Regions from separate parts of the Homo sapiens genome. Here all the other regions are linked to region 1. The links are contacts of gene promoters, found by promoter capture Hi-C in human tissues and cell types (Jung and others, 2019). All regions are on one chromosome and are shown on one strand. The core of a region is centred on a gene start or on the middle of the fragment in contact, and the rest is flanking DNA. Distances in the headings are between cores, read along the strand shown.

What was found. The method cuts DNA at HindIII sites, captures the fragments that hold promoters and counts their contacts. A contact is called where the count stands out against the background at its distance.
Region 2: a fragment that was not itself captured here is called in contact with the fragment with the promoter of ERI1 in region 1 in 1 of the 25 tissues and cell types used here (mesenchymal stem cells).
Region 3: a fragment that was not itself captured here is called in contact with the fragment with the promoter of ERI1 in region 1 in 1 of the 25 tissues and cell types used here (dorsolateral prefrontal cortex).
Region 4: a contact is called between a fragment that was not itself captured here and the fragment with the promoter of ERI1 in region 1, in 1 of the 25 tissues and cell types used here (aorta).
Region 5: a contact is called between a fragment that was not itself captured here and the fragment with the promoter of ERI1 in region 1, in 1 of the 25 tissues and cell types used here (heart left ventricle).
Region 6: a contact is called between a fragment that was not itself captured here and the fragment with the promoter of ERI1 in region 1, in 2 of the 25 tissues and cell types used here (bladder and small bowel).
Region 7: a contact is called between a fragment that was not itself captured here and the fragment with the promoter of ERI1 in region 1, in 1 of the 25 tissues and cell types used here (lymphoblastoid cells).

Annotation. Positions count from the first base shown.
Region 1 is chr8:9,001,547-9,004,255 of GRCh38, forward strand. ERI1 (exoribonuclease 1) reads left to right here and starts at 1,351. Exons shown (of 7, transcript NM_153332.4): 1 at 1,351-1,625. The coding sequence starts at 1,518. LOC105379227 (a long non-coding RNA gene) reads right to left here and starts at 1,196. Exons shown (of 3, transcript XR_002956680.2): 1 at 1,115-1,196. The HindIII fragment of the contact is 7,447 bases long and covers 1-2,709 here.
Region 2 is chr8:9,721,040-9,723,748 of GRCh38, forward strand. All of the region lies in intron 12 of TNKS (tankyrase), which reads left to right. Among named protein-coding and RNA genes, the nearest start is that of MIR597, 19 kb to the right of the region's middle. The HindIII fragment of the contact is 4,617 bases long and covers 1-2,709 here.
Region 3 is chr8:9,683,662-9,686,370 of GRCh38, forward strand. The region is part of intron 5 of TNKS (tankyrase); the gene reads left to right. Among named protein-coding and RNA genes, the nearest start is that of MIR597, 57 kb to the right of the region's middle. The HindIII fragment of the contact is 5,513 bases long and covers 1-2,709 here.
Region 4 is chr8:9,633,614-9,636,322 of GRCh38, forward strand. The region is part of intron 3 of TNKS (tankyrase); the gene reads left to right. Among named protein-coding and RNA genes, the nearest start is that of TNKS, 79 kb to the left of the region's middle. The HindIII fragment of the contact is 5,989 bases long and covers 1-2,709 here.
Region 5 is chr8:9,614,486-9,617,194 of GRCh38, forward strand. TNKS (tankyrase) reads left to right here. Exons shown (of 27, transcript NM_003747.3): 3 at 1,097-1,192. Among named protein-coding and RNA genes, the nearest start is that of TNKS, 60 kb to the left of the region's middle. The HindIII fragment of the contact is 4,214 bases long and covers 1-2,709 here.
Region 6 is chr8:9,588,879-9,591,587 of GRCh38, forward strand. All of the region lies in intron 2 of TNKS (tankyrase), which reads left to right. Among named protein-coding and RNA genes, the nearest start is that of TNKS, 34 kb to the left of the region's middle. The HindIII fragment of the contact is 6,330 bases long and covers 1-2,709 here.
Region 7 is chr8:8,474,622-8,477,330 of GRCh38, forward strand. No RefSeq gene overlaps it. Among named protein-coding and RNA genes, the nearest start is that of LINC02950, 15 kb to the left of the region's middle. The HindIII fragment of the contact is 4,712 bases long and covers 1-2,709 here.

The DNA of each region.
Region 1 (2,709 bases), core at 101-2,600:
CTGAGTCAGTTCCTCCCGTGGGGGACACAAAATCAGATGAGCTAGTTTATCCAAGATCAGGTGAGTCAGTTTATCAATCTGGGAGGTGCCAGCTGATCCATCAAGTGCAGGGCCTGCAAAATATCTCAAGCACTGATCTTAGATTTTACAATAGTGATATTATCCCCAGGAGCAATTTGGAGAGGGTTAGAATCTTGTAGCCTTCAGCTGCATGAGTCCTAAATCATAATTTCTAATCTTTCGGCTAATTTACTAGTCCTACAAAAGCAGTCTAGTCTCAAGAAGAGGGTTTATTTTGAGAAAGGGCTATCACCTTTGTTTTAAACTATAAGCTATACACTAAGTTCCTCCCAGTGTTAGTTTGGCCTACGCCTAGGAATGAATAAGGATAGCCTGGAGGTTAAAAGCAAGATGGAGTTGGTTAGGTCTGATCTCTTTCACTGTCTCAATGATAATTTTGCAATGGCAGTTTCACATCTGAGGTTTCTATTGCGTGTTCCATGGTATTCAATAATCTCTTCACTCTGGTTGCTGGGAGCTCAAATGATTCCCAGTTCTGTGTGACCTCTCACCATTGTTTGGTGTACTGCTCCCCAGTAATTGTTCTTTCCTGGCCTTGTGGAGTTTCACGTTTTTTATTCAGTTAAAGATTCAAGGTACTCCTAAGCAGATTTCTGAAGCTCTTTTTCCATGTAATTCCCTCCTCTCCAGAATTCTGCCCTACAAATTCCAACCGACTTGGCCTACCCCAATTTCGTCAACTCCAATCTCTGTCTTTTCAACCCAGGAGATCCTAGGTTTCCATATGATTTCCTTTCATCGCACCACAGACTGGAAATCGCCTCTGGGCAAAAGGGCAGGATGATATACGGCTCCTTTTATTTCTTTTCTCTCAGGTAAAACAGTCCACAGCTGTCCGTTGTCCAATGTCTGAATAGGTGTCTCCTATATTTTGTTCCGTTTTCTAATTGTTTATAGTGGGACACTAAGTCCCGACCCATTTTCTTTTCTTGCCCAGAGTGGAAGTTTTAGGAAACTCCTTATGGAAAATGTGAATTGTTTTATTATTTTTTATGGTCGAAAACATCTTTCTCTATGATATCTTCCCACTCACCCTACTTTTTTCCTTCTCAGGAAACACTGACGGGAACACACGTGCCGGTGCTACCCTCCAGTGACTGGACTAGATCCTTGCGCAACTTCAACCCGCGCTAGCTCCGCCTACGGCCGGCCACGCCCCGTCTTCTCACCGGCGCGCCTCCCTCTTGTTCGTCCTCCCTCCCCCTGTGGACTGCGGCGCTGGCGTTCCGCGCACGCCGGCTCACTGCGCCTGCCCGGCGTGTGGACGCCACACGCTCCCGGAAGTGGGAGGTGGCCGCTGGAGTTTGTGTGGCCGCCGCCGCGGGAACGCGAGCCCGGTAATTTTTCAACGGAGAAAGGCGAGGCTTTCGGGCTCTGCAGAGTGAGAGTTAGCAAGTGTCCGGCTCCAGCAACTCTCCTCTGGCGTGACAGCCGGCATGGAGGATCCACAGAGTAAAGAGCCTGCCGGCGAGGCCGTGGCTCTCGCGCTGCTGGAGTCGCCGCGGCCGGAGGGCGGGGAGGAGCCGCCGCGTCCCAGTCCCGAGGTGAGGAGTCGACCCGCGCCTGGCTGTTGGCGCCAGCTGCCCCGTCCCCAAAGCGCCCTCGGCACCCCTTTCTTCTCAGGTGTCCCGCAGAAGGTGCAGCTGTGCGCCCTTGGACCCCAGCCTCTTCCTCGGTGCCCAGCTCCCTGGCTTTATCCTCGGGTGGGTGTCTTGGAGCCCCCTCAGGGCCGAATCACTCTCTGGGAGGGAGGAAATCGTCAAGACCAGTTCTGTCTACAGTGGGTTAACAGGTTCTAAGAGGGAGTTTTGCTTTAAACTTAATTCTGTGTTCACGGTTGCTGTTGTCACTCCATGTAGCCGTTATGGGTAGTTTGCAAGGCTTTATGTTTTTAAAATCTCACCATATACGCTAGGTATGTCACTTCATGCCTGTTTTTAAAAAAAGAAAAAATTTAAAAAGCACTCACCAGCATCCCTGTCTCTGTACCTGTTAAGTGGAGCTTCGTCTTAGCTGCTTTTGCTCATTAACTGGTGTCTCATATAACCATAGTATAAGATTGAATGAATCATTTTGACATCTCATCGGTTGAACTTAGTTACAGTGGCAAAGTTGTAGAACAGTCTTAAAACTTATTTAACGAATGTTAATTGTTGACTAGCGCTGCGGATTGTAAGTGATTGAATACTAAAATTGATCTTTTCCTAATAATAAACATGTTGAACACTTCGTAAAGCTTCATAAAGTGCGTATTTGCAAGAGGCCTCCTAACTCTTGCTCCTTCCGTCCACAGTCAGTTTCCATCTGGCAGCTAGAATGAGCTTTTCAATAACATGAATTTGGCTTATTCCCCTCCTGAGTCACTTCCATTTGCTGCTCTGCGGGGTCGGGTGCCTGCCTCCCTTGGTAATTGCATCTCACACAGTTTTTTCCCTTTTGTTCCCAGTGCCCCTCGCTGCCTTGTGTTCTTTGACATTGGAAAGAAGGTCTCGTTAAGGATCTCTGTATGTTCCTTTTGCCCTGTGTGCACTTCCTTTGGATCCTTGCAATTATCTTTCTCCTTCTAAGGTTGTTATTTCAAAGAGTACTTGCACATCCCTTCTCTTGTAAAGAACCACTCTTCCACCT
Region 2 (2,709 bases), core at 68-2,567, 720 kb after region 1:
GGGATGCCGAGGCAGGCAGATCACGAGGACAGGAGATCGAGACCATCTTGGCCAACATGGTGAAACCCTGTCTCTATTAAAAATACAAAAATTAGCTGGGCGGAGTGGCGCATGCCTTGTAGCCCCAGCTACTTGGGAGGCTGAGGCAAGGAGAATTGCTTGAACGCGGGAGGCGGAGGTTGCAGTGAGCCGAGATCACGCCACTGCACTCCAGCCTGGAGACAGAGTGAAACTCTGTCTCAAAAATAAATAAATAAATTATATATATATATAAAATTATAAAATTTTGCTGAATGTTTCATTGTCTGCCTGGTATAGTGTTAGATATTTTAAATATAAATTGATAAGAAAATAGATACTGGCTTCCTAAGTCCCAAAACTAGAGGAAGTAATGCAGTCTACCTACTGACAAAATGAACTAGAATCAAAAGTTTAGTATAATTAACCTCTTTCCTAACCTTTTAATTTTGTCTGTGGATTATATCTGCTATGGAATGAAATGACAAACCAGAAGAGTAAAATGTAGAAGGCTATAGACTAGGAGTCAGAAGTCCTGGTTACTTTTTTCTACCTACAGTCTGGTAGTTCTTAACTCTATCAGGTACAGTGCCCGCTTTTTATAAAGAATGTCTTATGACATATCCTTATGACATTTCAGAAGTGAAATTCATAGATAATATGACCTAACTGTATAGGTACCTTTCCAAAAATCTATATAAAACGCCCTAACTAGATCGGGCATGGTGGCTGACGCCTGTAATCCCAGCACTTTGGGAGGCCGAGGTGGGCGGATCACGAGGTCAGGAGTTCCAGACCACCTTGGCCAACATGGTGAAACCCCCATCTCTACTAAATGTTAAAAAATTAGCCGGGTGTGGTGGTGCGTGCCTGTAATTCCAGCTACTCGGGAGCCTGAGGCAGGAGAATCACTGGAACCTAGGAGACGGAGGTTGCAGTGAGCCAAGATCGCGCCACTGCACTCCATCCAGCCTGGGTGACAGAGCGAGACTCCATCTCAACAAAAAAAAAAGAAAAGAAAAGAAAAAAATGCCCTAACTATAATATAAAGGGAAAATAGCAGTAAGTTACAATAAAATAATTTATAGTTCTTATGTAAATAGATTGGACACAACTATATTAGAAGACAAAACATGACCCCACAGATTTCTAAAGGGACCCCAAGAAATACAGCCAAGTTGAGAATCACTGCTATATGATGCAACAGGGACCCTTCTAGGGCTTGTAGAGATTATGATATGTGTATATTGTTATAGGAAGATCAGAGCTAAATAGCATAATAAAACTAATTGTGCAACATTGTGAAAACTATTGATGAGGATTTATTTTCCTCATGCTAGGTCATTCGTAGATAGTGATCATTCTACTTCAGCCTTAATGGTGATCTTGAGACGGGAAGATTTAGAAGGAAATCTATCTAGCATGTCTTCACTATCAACATGAGTAAGATCCAGCTGAACAAATGAAATTTTCTATATAAATTTCAAGCTTGAACTCAAAAAAAAAAAAAAAAAAAAGACTTTGACTTCCTGTTTTTATGGAGTGATAGAACATTTGCTTAAAGGAGATATTACTCCTTGCCTAGGAAATATTTCTTCCCTCTCAGTAAATTCTAATGATTTCTAAAAGTTGTGATTTTTGTTAAAATTTCTAAATTTTCTCATTTTACTGAGAATCATTTAGTACCGAATTTTAAGTTAGTTTCTGTATGTTTTAACCATAAGTCAGGCAAACACATAGCTTTGCCTCAAATTATGTGCATAGCTTTTAGAGATAATTAACAAAATGGAGAAGAAAGTATTGAATAAATCAAGCATATCAGATCCATATAATACTTTTAAAATGTCTTCTTACTGAATGCAGTTAGAATATATGAGTTCTGGCAAAAGATAAAACTAAATACTGAATACAAATGAAATATTTTTCTTCGATTATTTTGATAAATCTCCTTTAAAATTGATTTTTGAAATAAGACATTATATAGGTAATTAAATGCTTAATTTAGAACATGCAGAACTTTTTAGTTTAATTCTTTATTGATCTGGAAAGCTAATACAAATAAAAAATATATATAGGAAAATTTTGCCCTCCAAAAGGTTTTTTTTTTTTGTAATGGGAATTGTTTCTTATTTGAAATAGGATATGAGTTTTTAAACTACTATTTTTACCAGGAATTTGTATGTCTCTGTAGACTATGGACCATGCATTAGCTGAACTTTTTAGTTATTTATTAACCCAATATCAGGTTATATCTATAATGACTTTTGAAAGAATATATTAATATCAGTCAAATAAGATGTATAGTAATTTGTTTTGTTCTGGATAACATTTTATAAGATTCATTTAAATACACTTGTTAATACGGGTTTGAGATCTACTTTAGAAACCTGCACTTTCAACTCTCAAGTCTGTAGTTGCCAGAAGTTTACATTAATAAAGTTTTCATTATAAACTGCTGGCAATATTTGTGTCAAAACTAACATCAATGTAAAGAAAACAAGAGAAGCAGCTTTTTATGAATTAGCACTTTAAAACATTATTTCCAAAGATTTGATTTCTTTCTCTAGACTTGCTCTTTCCAATATGGTAGCCACTAGCTACATCTGGCTACATTTAAACTAATTAAAATTAAATAAAATGGAAAATCTTTCCATTAGTTACACTAGCCACATTTCAGGTATTCCGTAGTCA
Region 3 (2,709 bases), core at 77-2,576, 680 kb after region 1:
TGGGGGTTTGAGACTTTAGGTTTTTTTTTAATGTAATATGTGGGATTATACAATGAGAGTGTAAATTTTAAGTACTCTTAATTCTATACTGTGACTTGATGATTATCTAATTAGGTAATATGTGAGAAGTTAATATTTTGTTTCCCAAAGACAATTGTTTTCCTAACCTTTAGAATTCTGAAAATTATAAAACATCAATAAGGTTTTATACAGTTTATATTGTTACTATGCTTTTATTTTACACATAAATCAAAATTGGCTCCTGGCTACACTAGAAATTTTATTGGCTTTTTTTTTCCCTAAAAGCAGAATTTTTTTTTGTTCTAAAATGCTACCTTTTGTTGTTGCTCTAAAATGATACTTTTATGCAATTATATACGTGTTATAATGATGACCACTTTTAGAAACATAGGGACATAGATGTTATTTAGTCATCTTCTACCTTCTGCCCAGTATGATTAGTCATAACAGTCCACAATTCATTATTGCCATTAGGTGAACCAGAACCTGAAAATAGGTTGTTGCCTTTCTAGAATTCTTTATTCCTTTATTTTCAAACTTGGATTTTTTGATCTTTAATCTCCCTTTACAGTGTTTTATATCAGTATCAGATGTTTTATTAGCTATTATCCACATGTTCTGGCCTTGTTTGATATCTAAATTTAAGGTGGTAATATTCTCTTGTTTTCCAGTGTTAATTTTCGTAAGGATACCTTTTATAATAAATGAAAATAAATATTTGAATAAAATTAGTCCAACAGTCAACTCTTTTGAGAGTTCTTTGTGGTTCCTCTCTGTGTTATTCTCCTTTTCTAGGTGTCTTTATCCCCTTCCAAAATAAATGTCCAAAATTATCCATTCCTCATCTTAATAGGCAATAGGTAGGGGTTAGGGACTATTGCACATATTTCCAAATAGAAATAATATGTATCTTTGAATATATCTACTCTGCCTACTGTTGCTACTAGTATATGTCACCAATTAAAAGTAACTAATATTTGATAGGTGCTTTTAAAATAACATCTCCAATGTAATTTTGAGTATTTCAGGTTTCCCTCTGCTCCTTTCATTCATTCATTCCACCAACACTTAATACCTACCATGTGTGGGTCACTGTGCTTAGTGTCATGGGAGATAACTATATGGTTGATGGTACTGGTTAACGGGGAGCTCAAACATTGGTAGAATGATTAAGACATTATGGAAGACATTGAAGCTAATGCATTAAAATGATACAGTATTCCTTTTGCGGTGATACAGTTATAAAGTGCTGATTTAAGGTGACAGTGTTTTTTCCTGGCCCTTTTAGTTTTAACGCTTTAGTATTTAGTATACCCTTCTGTAAGAAACCACAAATTTAGATGAGCAGGTAATTGGAGGAACATGATTTTAATTCAGAAAACTTAAGGATTTCTTTAAGTGTCAACTTTCTGTAAATATTTGCTTCCAAATAGTTAATAATGAAGATGACTGGAAACAGAGAAAAGTAAAGTGTTTGAAAACTACTTTCAAAAGGAAATCAATCAGAAATAAAGTAGAATTTAGTGAATTTAGTGCTGTACCTTGAAGACACCATAGAAAAACTGTGATAGGGCAAATAGACTGTAAGGTCAGAGGGATTGGGTTCTATTCTGCTTTCCAAGTGTGTGTCTATGGCTCTAGAGTTTTTAATTTACTCACTCTCAAATGGAAATAACCATACCCTTTCCACAAGGCATTTGAGAGGATTAAGTGAAATAATGTGGTCAGTATACCTAGTACAGTTTGTAGCACACAGTAACCTTTAGAAAATTAGATTCCTACTCCTTTGATAATTTTTTCTGAAACTTTCAAATGTATCTAGAATGGACACTTACATACTTTTAAGTACTCCAGTGTTCCCCTTCTCTCCACTTAAATGTCCTTATTGTCCAAGCTCTGTCCCAGCTGCCTTTGGATAAAATAACCTATAGATTGTCTTGTAATCTATAAAGCATATAATTTAATTAATTCAGTTGGAGCTTGGCCTTCCCCTCTCTTCACCCAGTGTCACATTTAATAAATAAATTTGTCTAAATTAGCAGCTTATAAATTCAGAAATACATTCTTGAGATATATGCCCATTTTTAAACACGTGTTGATTAAAAATTAATATCTGGCTGAAAATAATGCCATATATGGAATTCCATAAACCCCATCCAGTGAAGAACAAGAAAGATGGAGGATTAGTGTAATTCTTTGTATCTACATTTAAGTTTTAGGGTTGTAGAGTTTCTCATTATTCTTGATCAGTACCCCCGTCTCTCAGTATAACTTTTTTCCAAATACTGTGTTTGGCCAGGATTTTAACAGTCTTTATGTGGTAGGTTGTTATTTGGAGATGCCTCAATAAACCGTCCCTTTTATTACTCATGCCCTTGTCTAGCCCCCTGCCACACTGACTCTGGGCTTAGCCTGGGACTGCTTTGAATAAAATAAGGCGCAAGTGATACTCTGTCCTATTCAGGACACGCCCCTGAGTTGGCCTGGCAGCTGCTAGTTTCTTTTTTTGTAATTCTTCTTGGAACCCAGCTGCCATGTCATAAGGCAGCCCAAGCAGCCATGTGACGAGGTCCACATGAAGAACTGAGGCCCCTAGCCAACAGACCCACCTGAGTTCGTATGGAAGCTTCTTAATGATTCTAACTATTCACACGTCCCAGACAATTTAACCCCATCTGAGTTCCCGAT
Region 4 (2,709 bases), core at 157-2,656, 630 kb after region 1:
CAGAGCTGATGATAAGCCATTTTCAAGATGGTCATAAAAACTATGGCTTTTATGTTGGGCTGTTTTTCTCATTCACTTGGATCACTTGCTCCGGAAGCAGCAAACTGCCATATTGTAAACTGCCTTATAGACAAGCCCATTTGGGGAGGTACTGAAGTCTCTGGCCAGTAGCCAGTGAGAAACTGAGGCTTGTCAATAACCACATGAAGATTCTTGGAAGCAGATTTTCCAGCCGCATTTAAGCCTTGAGATGAGATATGATAGTCCCCATGTATAGCTTGGCAGCAACCTTGTTGGAAATGCTGAGTCAGAATCATCCAGCTAACCATTCCCAGATTCCTGACCCTCAGAAACTATGTGAAATAACATTCATTCTTTTAAGTTGTCATTTCCAGATGTAATTTGCTAGGCAGAAATAGATTACTAATACACTATAGGAATTAAGGAAAAAAAACTCATTTAACTGCATATATATATATATATATATATGTATATATATTTTTTTTCCAAAAATAAGCACAAGAAGGATAAACCAGAAAACATTGAAATTGATTACCTATAAGAACGTGAGAACAGAGGGTAGATAAGACATTAAGTAGACCATGCCATTTTGGTATAATTTTAATTTCTGGAGGCATGTTAATGTGCTACATATTAAAAAATAAAATTAAATTGAAGATGGGGGAAAAACACCTAAAATTTGAATGTAAGCAGAAATAAATGAGCCACCTATATTTCAAACAACCACACTGAAGAAAGTAAAGAACTAATCTAAGTAACTTTTGAACGTAATTCTTTGACTTCATATTCTTGGTGTAGGAGGAAAGAAAAGGGAATTTCAAACCAACTTTGACTTCTTATTAAGTTTGTTGTTCTTTGTTTTTTGCAGTGTGTGGTGTAGTAATTCTGCAACTATTTTATGTATGTTGTAGGATTAAGCAAATAAGTAAATGTGTTGGGAGCAAGGGCTCTTACTGTAGAAGAAGAAGATACAAATGTGGAAGGGGGAAGACAGAGGAGAAACTTGTGGATTTGGATTGAAGTTGTAGGCATCAGAATCACTGCGGGAAACAAACCTCTATTTCTGCTACAGAAAAGACCTAGAAGCAGTGAGACCCCAATAGCAGTGGAGCACACCTGCTTCCAAGAGCTTGGTTTCTACATGCCGTTTATTAAAAGACACCAAAACTTTGAAAAAAAAATGACTGATTTCAAAGCTAGGTCGGGGAAGGTGTAAAAGGAGCCTGGAACATCTTCTGTGCTAGAAAGTAATGAACTGCTCGGCCGGGCGCGGTGGCTCACTCCTGTAATCCCGGCACTTTGGGAGGCTGAGGCTGGTGGATCACGAGGTCAGGAGATCGAGACCACGGTGAAACCCCGTCTCTACTAAAAATACAAAAAAAAATATTAGCCGGGCGCGGTGGCAGGCGCCTGTAGGCGCGGCCACTCGGGAGGCTGAGGCCGGAGACTGGCGTAAACCCGGGAGGCGGAGCTTGCAGTGAGCCGAGACCGCGCCACTGCACTCCAGCCTGGACGACAGAGCGAGACTCCGTCTCGGGGAAAAAAAAAAAAAAAAAGTAATGAACTGCTCAAAGAAATAATGGAGACACATGAAAAGAACATAGGAACCATCCTGAAGGGGCTCCCAATGAACATATCCGGGATAGTTTGACTATCAAAGTGTATCATAATAGTGATGGATTGTATAGCCCATTGTATGAAATAGGAATTCTTCAGTGGTAATACATGAACGAATGGGGAGGGACACTTTCTTACTGTAGAATGCCTACTAATCAATGTGGAGGGACTGTTGGAATTGGAAAATCACCATTTGCAACCATGATAGTAAAGACTGGTTAGGACAACAATCGTTAGTGGATGCCAAATCTCAGGGGCAAAGTTTGATGAGCAGCTGTATAATTATATGATTCTCAGCATGATTGCTCATAGATTGATAATTACTTGGGAGAAACTATACATTGACAAAATCTGACAATACTTTTTTTGGATATCAAAATTAACATCACTAATGAGAATGAATTAAGCCTGTGTGCTGGCAGATGTAATACCTGAGAAGGTCACAACATTTCTTATGTTGTATTCTGGCTAGGGAGGCATGACTAAATCTCATGAGAAAACATTAAACAAATTCCAATTTAGGTTCATTCTACGAAATAGCCTGTATTTTTAAAAAATGTCAGTGTCTTGAAAGACAAAGGCTGAGGAATTACTCCAAATCAAAGGAAACTAAAGAGACATGACAACTAAATGCAAAATATATGATCCTGGACTAGAGGAGAAAAATGCTATAAAGGCTATAATAGGAATGACTGACAAAATTGGAGCACATACTGTATATTAGATGAAAAGTATTGTACCAGTGTTACTTGAATTTAATTACTGTACTGTGGTTACATGAAAAAAGTATTGTTTTTAAAAAATAGGCACTGAAGTACTAAACGCAAGGAGAAATAATGTATCGATGTATTGCAGCCTTCTCAAATGGATAAAAAATTGGTTGTTACATATACCTATGTGCATAAACATAAGCGAGAGGATATAAAGCACATGGGCAGATGATTATAAGTAGGTGAGATGGAGGATATGGAGGAGCCCCTTGTACTAATTTTGCAAATTTTCTGTTTGAAGTTATTTCAAGTAAAATGTTATTCAAAGTGATCATGCTGGGCATAAGAAAGAAAAAGGAAA
Region 5 (2,709 bases), core at 65-2,564, 610 kb after region 1:
CATTGATTTTATGGCTAATACATTAAAGGAAAAGGAAGAGCTTTGTAAACAGAAGGACTTACGGCTTGGTAATGTGTGAGTATTACCTTCCAAATATTGCTAAAGAATGTATGTGCTTTAGCATGGAACTGTCATGAATGAATGAAAATTTGGGACTCATCAACGGTAGTGCCTCATAACTTACAATTGAATTTTACTTACTGGAACAACTTTTTAATACATTCATTGATTTAATCATTGTTTGGGTAGTATTACAGCAACAGTCTCCTCCTCTCCTGCCCTCTCCACCCTCCCTACGTATACACACCACATACCAGATGTGGCTGATAAATGCTTTGGATTAATATATCTGGATTTTACTTAAACAGTGATTTTTTCTTTTGTAGGAACCTCCATATTTAAGAATTCCCAGTAGCTACTTTTTACCCAATATGGCAGGCATTACATTCGTGCCTTAGGATATATTATAGTGATTGAGTTTCTGTTTCTAAACATTTTTGATGGAAAGAATGAGTATAAGAGGCAGTTCCTTTTTGCAGCTCCACGCCAGGGGACCAGGGTTACACACATTACTATGTCTGTTAAACTTCTTGGAAGCCATCCAGTATGTTATGGTGAGTTTCATGTGCAAGTGGTGAGCCACTAAAAGGCTTGCACAGTATTATAACTATTCTGAGGAGAGGAGGCATTTGGAAATTCAGCAGTAAAGCAGCGACAGCAACAAGCAGCCACAGTGGTAGTAAAGAGAGGGCAGGTTCACAGTTAGCATATTTCACAGTGTGAGCCAGCGAGCACATAGCTTCCCATACTGCTGCTTGAAGGAGGCAAACCAAAACTCTACATTGCAAGATTTTTCTAGTTTCATGTTTATGATGTTAAGTCATGTGATAATATTGTACCATAAGTTGCCAACTTCATTTCACTCTAGAGAGGCTCCTTTGCTGCAGTGCTTTTTTGCTTTTTTTCTTTTTTTTTCTTGAAAGAGAAAAAATTTGTGCAATGTATGTTTATGCCTACACCATGCCGAGACGACACTTACCAGTAAATAATCTCTGTATCCCCGAGGTAAGATACTGTTTCTGCTTTCCCTGCACAGTGCTGCTGCAGCACGGAGCTGACCCAAACATTCGGAACACTGATGGGAAATCAGCCCTGGACCTGGCAGATCCTTCAGCAAAAGCTGTCCTTACAGGTAAGAAGACAGAGAGCTACCGAATGATTATATCTGTGTAACTCCTTACTTGATTTTATAAAATCTTGTTATGCTGAATTTTTCTTTTCACTGATGAAGCTAAGCAAATATATCTGCCATTATCTACTACTTTATTATTGATTTGATATCTGTCTCATTAATTGCTATGCTGTCGTAAGCATAAGCAGTAAGATTGTTGGTCTACTTAGAATGATAGCATTAAATCATAACATCTTTCACTCGTATTTTAGTCATTTTTATGGTTTATATCATAATTTTTCTGTATCTCATCCTCTCAGTTGTTTAAGACCTTTACTGTTGAGCAAGCAAGGGCATTTATATTACTATAAAAGTAGTTTTGATTGGAAAGACAACCTGCTGCCTGCTGCCTTATTTCTTGGATCGATAGTCAAATAAAATATGCCGCTGCCTCTCCCTTGCCACCCCGTTTATACTTTAATCATATGTTTTCACTTTTACCATGATAGCTAAGTTATTTTTAACTGAGGCGTTTATTATCTTTTTACTTCAGATAATGCAAATTTGTGGCTTAAATATTAGTTTTATTAAAGCAAATGCCAAGAACCAGCAAAGAGGAAATGCTAGAATGGAAAAGGTCTCTCATAACAATATAGAAAATAGTGCTCTAAGTGTTTTCATTGATCTGCATTCTCAAAATGCTGCATTGGATCTATTTTTGTTTTTATTCTTAGCATCTGAGTCCTGCTGCCTTTGCCCTCTTTTACTTAACTGACCTTCGTAATGAGCCTCTGTCACTGCAGTGCTAACAGTATTGTTTTAGGTTATGTGAAAGTAAATGACTTTTAACTACCTTTTAAATTTGCCCATGGTCGAAGAAAATAAATATTTTGTTCTTGTTTAAGTTTAGAGTCCATGGTGTGAAAATTTAGCAAAAATACTGAGGCGAAGGGAAAACGTTTATGTACAGAAAGCTTTGAAAATCTATGGAATTTTGCTTAATTACTCTGCATAGAAAAACAACTTTGCACTGTGCTAAAATCAATATAATTATTGCTCAGAGTAATATGACTTTTCTCAATCAAAGATTAGTGTATTTAGTTGCTGGATAACAGTAACATACACTAGAGTAATAAACCTACTTAAATTAGTGTAGATAAGAAATTTAAGTATAAATATATAATTTTAAGTAGTGAAATTAAAATACATAGCCTCGGGCCTGCTCAGATTCTACAGCCTTTCAGTCTCTTAACAAAGCCCTGGGCAACAATAGCAGCTTTAGAGTGGTCTCTGACCAAAGGAGAAATACAGTGCATAGTAACAGGGGTAGGTTATAAATGCTGAGCAAGACTCTTTGTATATCTAAATGTCCTCCCTCTGACGTTTCCTTCTCTCCAACTCTCAACACCCGCTTTGTCCATTTGTTAGATACATTTAATGCAACAACGCTTTTAGATCTACTTTCACTTTTTTAAAAGGCAAAATTTAATATAAGTTATTAACAAGAAACTATATCCTAATTTGTAATGAATTTCAGG
Region 6 (2,709 bases), core at 108-2,607, 590 kb after region 1:
CATAGCCTTATTTCAAATTAGACTAGGAAGAAGAAGCTTATCCAAGTTGAGAGGGATAGGTTAATGGGTTAATCGGAGTGGGGAAAGATGACAGCATTCAGCACATCATGGATATTATTGTCATAGATAATTGAATATATGACAAACTCGATTGGTATGGGAATTTGTCCTCATTAGTGTTTGTGACTGAAAACGGGATTATTTCCCTGCTCCCACTGAACCTATTGACATGAGAAAAAATCTATAGCTAGAGATTTTGCTCAGTGAGAAGCCTTGAAACCTGTATTAATGAAACAATAATCTACTTTCACTTGAATAAATGTAATCAGAAAGTAGGATACTAGAAGCAGGACATACATTCTGGGCCAAGGGTAGCAGCAGGATCAGCTTGACTAGGAGGTTCTAGAACCTAGTAGTGGAGTTAGCTAATGAAAGGTATTGTTTATAAACTAGAGGTCTCTTGTAAAGCATCAGATAAATATTTGAAGTTATAGTAAATAACTGCATGTAAAGTTGGAGACAGAAACACACCAGTCAGGAAAACCAAGAATTTTGAAGTAAACAACCAAGCCAGCTCCAAGAACTTTAGCAGCAGAGGTATGTCAGCCTTCTCATTAGAATCCTCCCTTAAAGTTGCTGTGAGGTCTTGGCTTCAAGTCCACTCTTGTTGCTAAACCTGAGATGCAAAGAATCTGATGCCCCACTTTGAGTTAGATGTTGACCCTTAATCAGTTAGCTTTAGTCTCAGAGACGTTTCCTAGTGTGGACTTGGCCCCTCGGGCCTCACCACTATACATAGGAATCTACAACTGAGAGTAAATTGATATAGCGGGGCTGGGAGCCACGTGGGTGAGGAAGAGAAGAAAGTAAAAATGAGCTTGATTTTGATTTTGGATCCCTTCGAAAATTGATTACTGTTAATATTCTTTGAACCATCTCATGCCTTCAACGAAGATCTTAATACTCTTTGTGAAAGAAGTCTTCTGATAATATGTTTCTATAGCTGTCCACAAACTCTTCTGAATTAATTCTATATGCATATACTGCCACCCAACACGTCTCCTCTGTTCATGTGCATGCTCCATTCATTGTCCCGTTGAATGTTACGTACAAAATACAAGCTAAGAGATAAGATTGCTAAGAATTTCAGGTGGTGACAGCAGAGCATTGGGGCCCTGTGCAACTGCACAGCTTGTGTGTTCGCGAAGCTGCCCATGATTAGATCACAGTATGTGCGTGTTTAAAAATGCTCCACATAATTCCAGGTGTACTTAAGTAACACCCGGACTCATCTTCAGGGCCCTCCTTGGTCTGGCTCCCGTCTACATCATGGACTTCATCCTCATGTCCCTGTAATTCCCTCCCTTTCTCTCCACCTTCCAGCTACAATGGCCTTTTTGTCTCTCTAATGCACCAAACTTGTTCTGCCTGCGGTACTCTTTCCCCAGATTTTTCACTAATAATGTTAATTCATCTGAGTTGTGCCCTGACAAAGCTGTCATAATTTCTTGCCCTGCCCTGTTTGTTTGATTACTCTTTTATCATGTTTTATTTTACACCATAGCACTTATTACCTGGAATTATATCCTTATTTAATCATACATTTACTTGTTTGTTTGCCATCTGTGTACTCTTCCCAACTTTGTGCCTTAATATAAACACAGGAACCTACTCTGCCTTACTTTGCACCACATCCCTGGCATAATAAAGCTCTGTGCTTGCTCCGAGTAAAATGCCTACTCTGTGCCAGAACCTCAGTGTGGTTTTAATTGCATTTGCCTGATAAGTAATGATGTTGAGCATCTTTTCATGTGCGTGTTTGCCATTTGTATGTATTCTTTGGGGAAATGTCTATTCCTATCTTTGTCCGTTATTAAATTGGCTGTCTTTTCATTATTGAGTTATGATAGATAAAAGTTTCTTACTAGAAAAATGATTTGCAAATACTTTCTCCCATTCTTTGTGTTGTCTTTTCATTTTCGTGATATTGTCCTTTGAAGCACAGAAGTTTTACATTTTGGTGATTTGATTAATGGTTAACATTAAAAAGTCTGTTTCTGCTTTCGTTGCTTGTGCTTTGGTATCTTATCTGAGAATCCATTGTCGAACCCTAGATCATGATTTAACTCTGTTGTCATCTAGGAGTTGTAACTGAAATGTATTTAGGTCTGATGCATTTGGAATTGATGTTTGGAGATGATGTGAGGTGAAGGGTCCAACGTCATGCCTTTGCATGTGGCTATCCAGTTTTCTCATTTAGTTGTTCATAATATTCCTTTATAATCTTTTATTTCTGTAAGCTTAGTAATAATTTACTCCCTTTCGTGTATGATTCTAGTTAATAGAGTTGTCTTTTATTTTTTCCCTAGGTCCATTTGGCTAAATGTTTGTGAGTTTATATTGTGTGTGCATATCGTTAGTTTTTTTGTTGTTGTATGGTGTTTCATTGTATGGATGTAGCACAGTTGGTGGTTGTTTAGCTTGTTTGCAGTTTGTAGCTGTTATAACGCTGGATGTATGTCTCAGCGTGGACATGTTTTTTCACTTCTCTTGGATGGATCCCTGAGAGTGGGATTGCTGGGTGGAATGCTAAGTGCACATTGGACTGTAAAAGAAGCTGCGTTGCCCTAATGGCTGAGCATGTTGAGAATATTTTTATGTACAGTGGTCATTCATGTATATTTTTTGTGAAGTGTGCATATCTTTTGG
Region 7 (2,709 bases), core at 55-2,554, 530 kb before region 1:
ACCACATGATTATCTCAATAGATGCAGAAAAAGCCTTTGACAAAATTCAACAACCCTTCATGCTAAAAACTCTCAATAAATGAGGTATTGATGGGACGTATTTCAAAATAATAAGAGCTATCTATGACAAACCCACAGCCAATATCATACTGAATGGGCAAAAACTGGAAGCATTCCCTTTGAAAACTGGCACAAGACAGGGATGCCCTCTCTCACCACTCCTATTCAACATAGTGTTGGAAGTTCTGGCCAGGGCAATCAGGCAGGAGAAGGAAATAAAGGGTATTCAATTAGGAAAAGAGGAAGTCAAATTGTCCCTGTTTGCAGACGACATGATTGTATATCTAGAAAACCCCATTGTCTCAGCCCAAAATCTCCTTAAGCTGATAAGCAACTTCAGCAAAGTCTCAGGATACAAAATCAATGTACAAAAATCACAAGCATTCTTATACACCAACAACAGACAAACAGAGAGCCAAATCATGACTGAACTCCCATTCACAATTGCTTCAAAGAGAATAAAATACCTAGGAATCCAACTTACAAGGGATGTGAAGGACCTCTTCAAGGAGAACTACAAACCACTGCTCAAGGAAATAAAAGAGGACACAAACAAATGGAAGAACATTCCATGCTCATGGGTAGGAAGAATCAATATCGTGAAAATGGCCATACTGCCCAAGGTAATTTACAGATTCAATGCCATCCCCATCAAGCTACCAATGACTTTCTTCACAGAATTGGAAAAAACTACTTTAAAGTTCATATGGAACCAAAAAAGAGCCCGCATTGCCAAGTCAATCCTAAGCCAAAAGAACAAAGCTGGAGGCATCACACTACCTGACTTCAAACTATACTACAAGGCTACAGTAACCAAAACAGCATGGTACTGGTACCAAAACAGAGATATAGATCAATGGAACAGAACAGAGCCCTCAGAAATAATGCCGCATATCTACAACTATCTGATCTTTGACAAACTTGAGAAAAACAAGCAATGGGGAAAGGATTCCCTATTTAATAAATGGTGCTGGGAAAACTGGCTAGCCATATGTAGAAAGCTGAAACTGGATCCCTTCCTTACACCTTATACAAAAATCAATTCAAGATGGATTAAAGATTTAAACGTTAGACCTAAAACCATAAAAACCCTAGAAGAAAACCTAGGCATTACCATTCAGGACATAGGCGTGGGCAAGGACTTCATGTCCAAAACACCAAAAGCAATGGCAACAAAAGCCAAAATTGACAAATGGGATCTAATTAAACTAAAGAGCTTCTGCACAGCAAAAGAAACTACCATCAGAGTGAACAGGCAACCTACAACATGGGAGAAAATTTTCGCAACCTACTCATCTGACAAAGGGCTAATATCCAGAATCTACAATGAACTCAAACAAATTTACAAGAAAAAAACAAACAACCCCATCAAAAAGTGGGCGAAGGACATGAACAGACACTTCTCAAAAGAAGACATTTATGCAGCCAAAAAACACATGAAGAAATGCTCATCATCACTGGCCATCAGAGAAATGCAAATCAAAACCACTATGAGATATCATCTCACACCAGTTAGAATGGCAATCATTAAAAAGTCAGGAAACAACAGGTGCTGGAGAGGATGTGGAGAAATAGGAACACTTTTACACTGTTGGTGGGACTGTAAACTAGTTCAACCATTGTGGAAGTCAGTGTGGCGATTCCTCAGGGATCTAGAACTAGAAATACCATTTGACCCAGCCATCCCATTACTGGGTATATACCCAAAGGACTATAAATCATGCTGCTATAAAGACACATGCACACGTATGTTTATTGTGGCATTATTCACAATAGCAAAGACTTGGAACCAACCCAAATGTCCAACAATGATAGACTGGATTAAGAAAATGTGGCACATATACACCATGGAATACTATGCAGCCATAAAAAATGATGAGTTCATGTCCTTTGTAGGGACATGGATGAAATTGGAAACCATCATTCTCAGTAAACTATCGCAAGAACAAAAAACCAAACACCGCATATTCTCACTCATAGGTGGGAATTGAACAATGAGATCACAAGGACACAGGAAGGGGAATATCACACTCTGGGGACGGTGGTGGGGTCGGGGGAGTGGGGAGGGATAGCAGTGGGAGATACATCTAATGATAGATGACACGTTGGTGGGTGCAGCGCACCAGCATGGCACATGTATACATATGTAACTAACCTGCACAATGTGCACATGTACCCTAAAACTTAAAGTATAATAAAAAAAAAATTAAAAAAAAAAAAAAAAAGAGATGTGATTGACACCTCCGATGCTGAGCTGGCTCCCGGTTCTGGCATCCTGACTGTTGACACACAGAAACTTAAAGGTGTACTAGAACTTGAGGTTTTGTAATCCGAACCCTAGAGTTTGCAAGTGAGGCCCCTGAAACCTATGGAGCTCGTTGGTTGAGGAGCGCAGTGAGCGCAGGGTCACTTCCAGAATCATGCTGGCCGCCTTTGGCCACTTGGTCACACTCTTCCTCTCTCTATGCTCGTTTCTCCATCTCTCTCTCTCTCTCTCTCTCTCTCTCTCTTTTTTTAGACTGAGTTTTGCTCTTGTTGCCCAGGCTGGAGTGCAATGGTGCGATCTTGGTTCACTGCAACCTCCGCCTCCCGGATTCAAGTGATTCTCCTTGCCTCAGCCTCCTAAGTAGCTGGAATTACAGGTGTCCA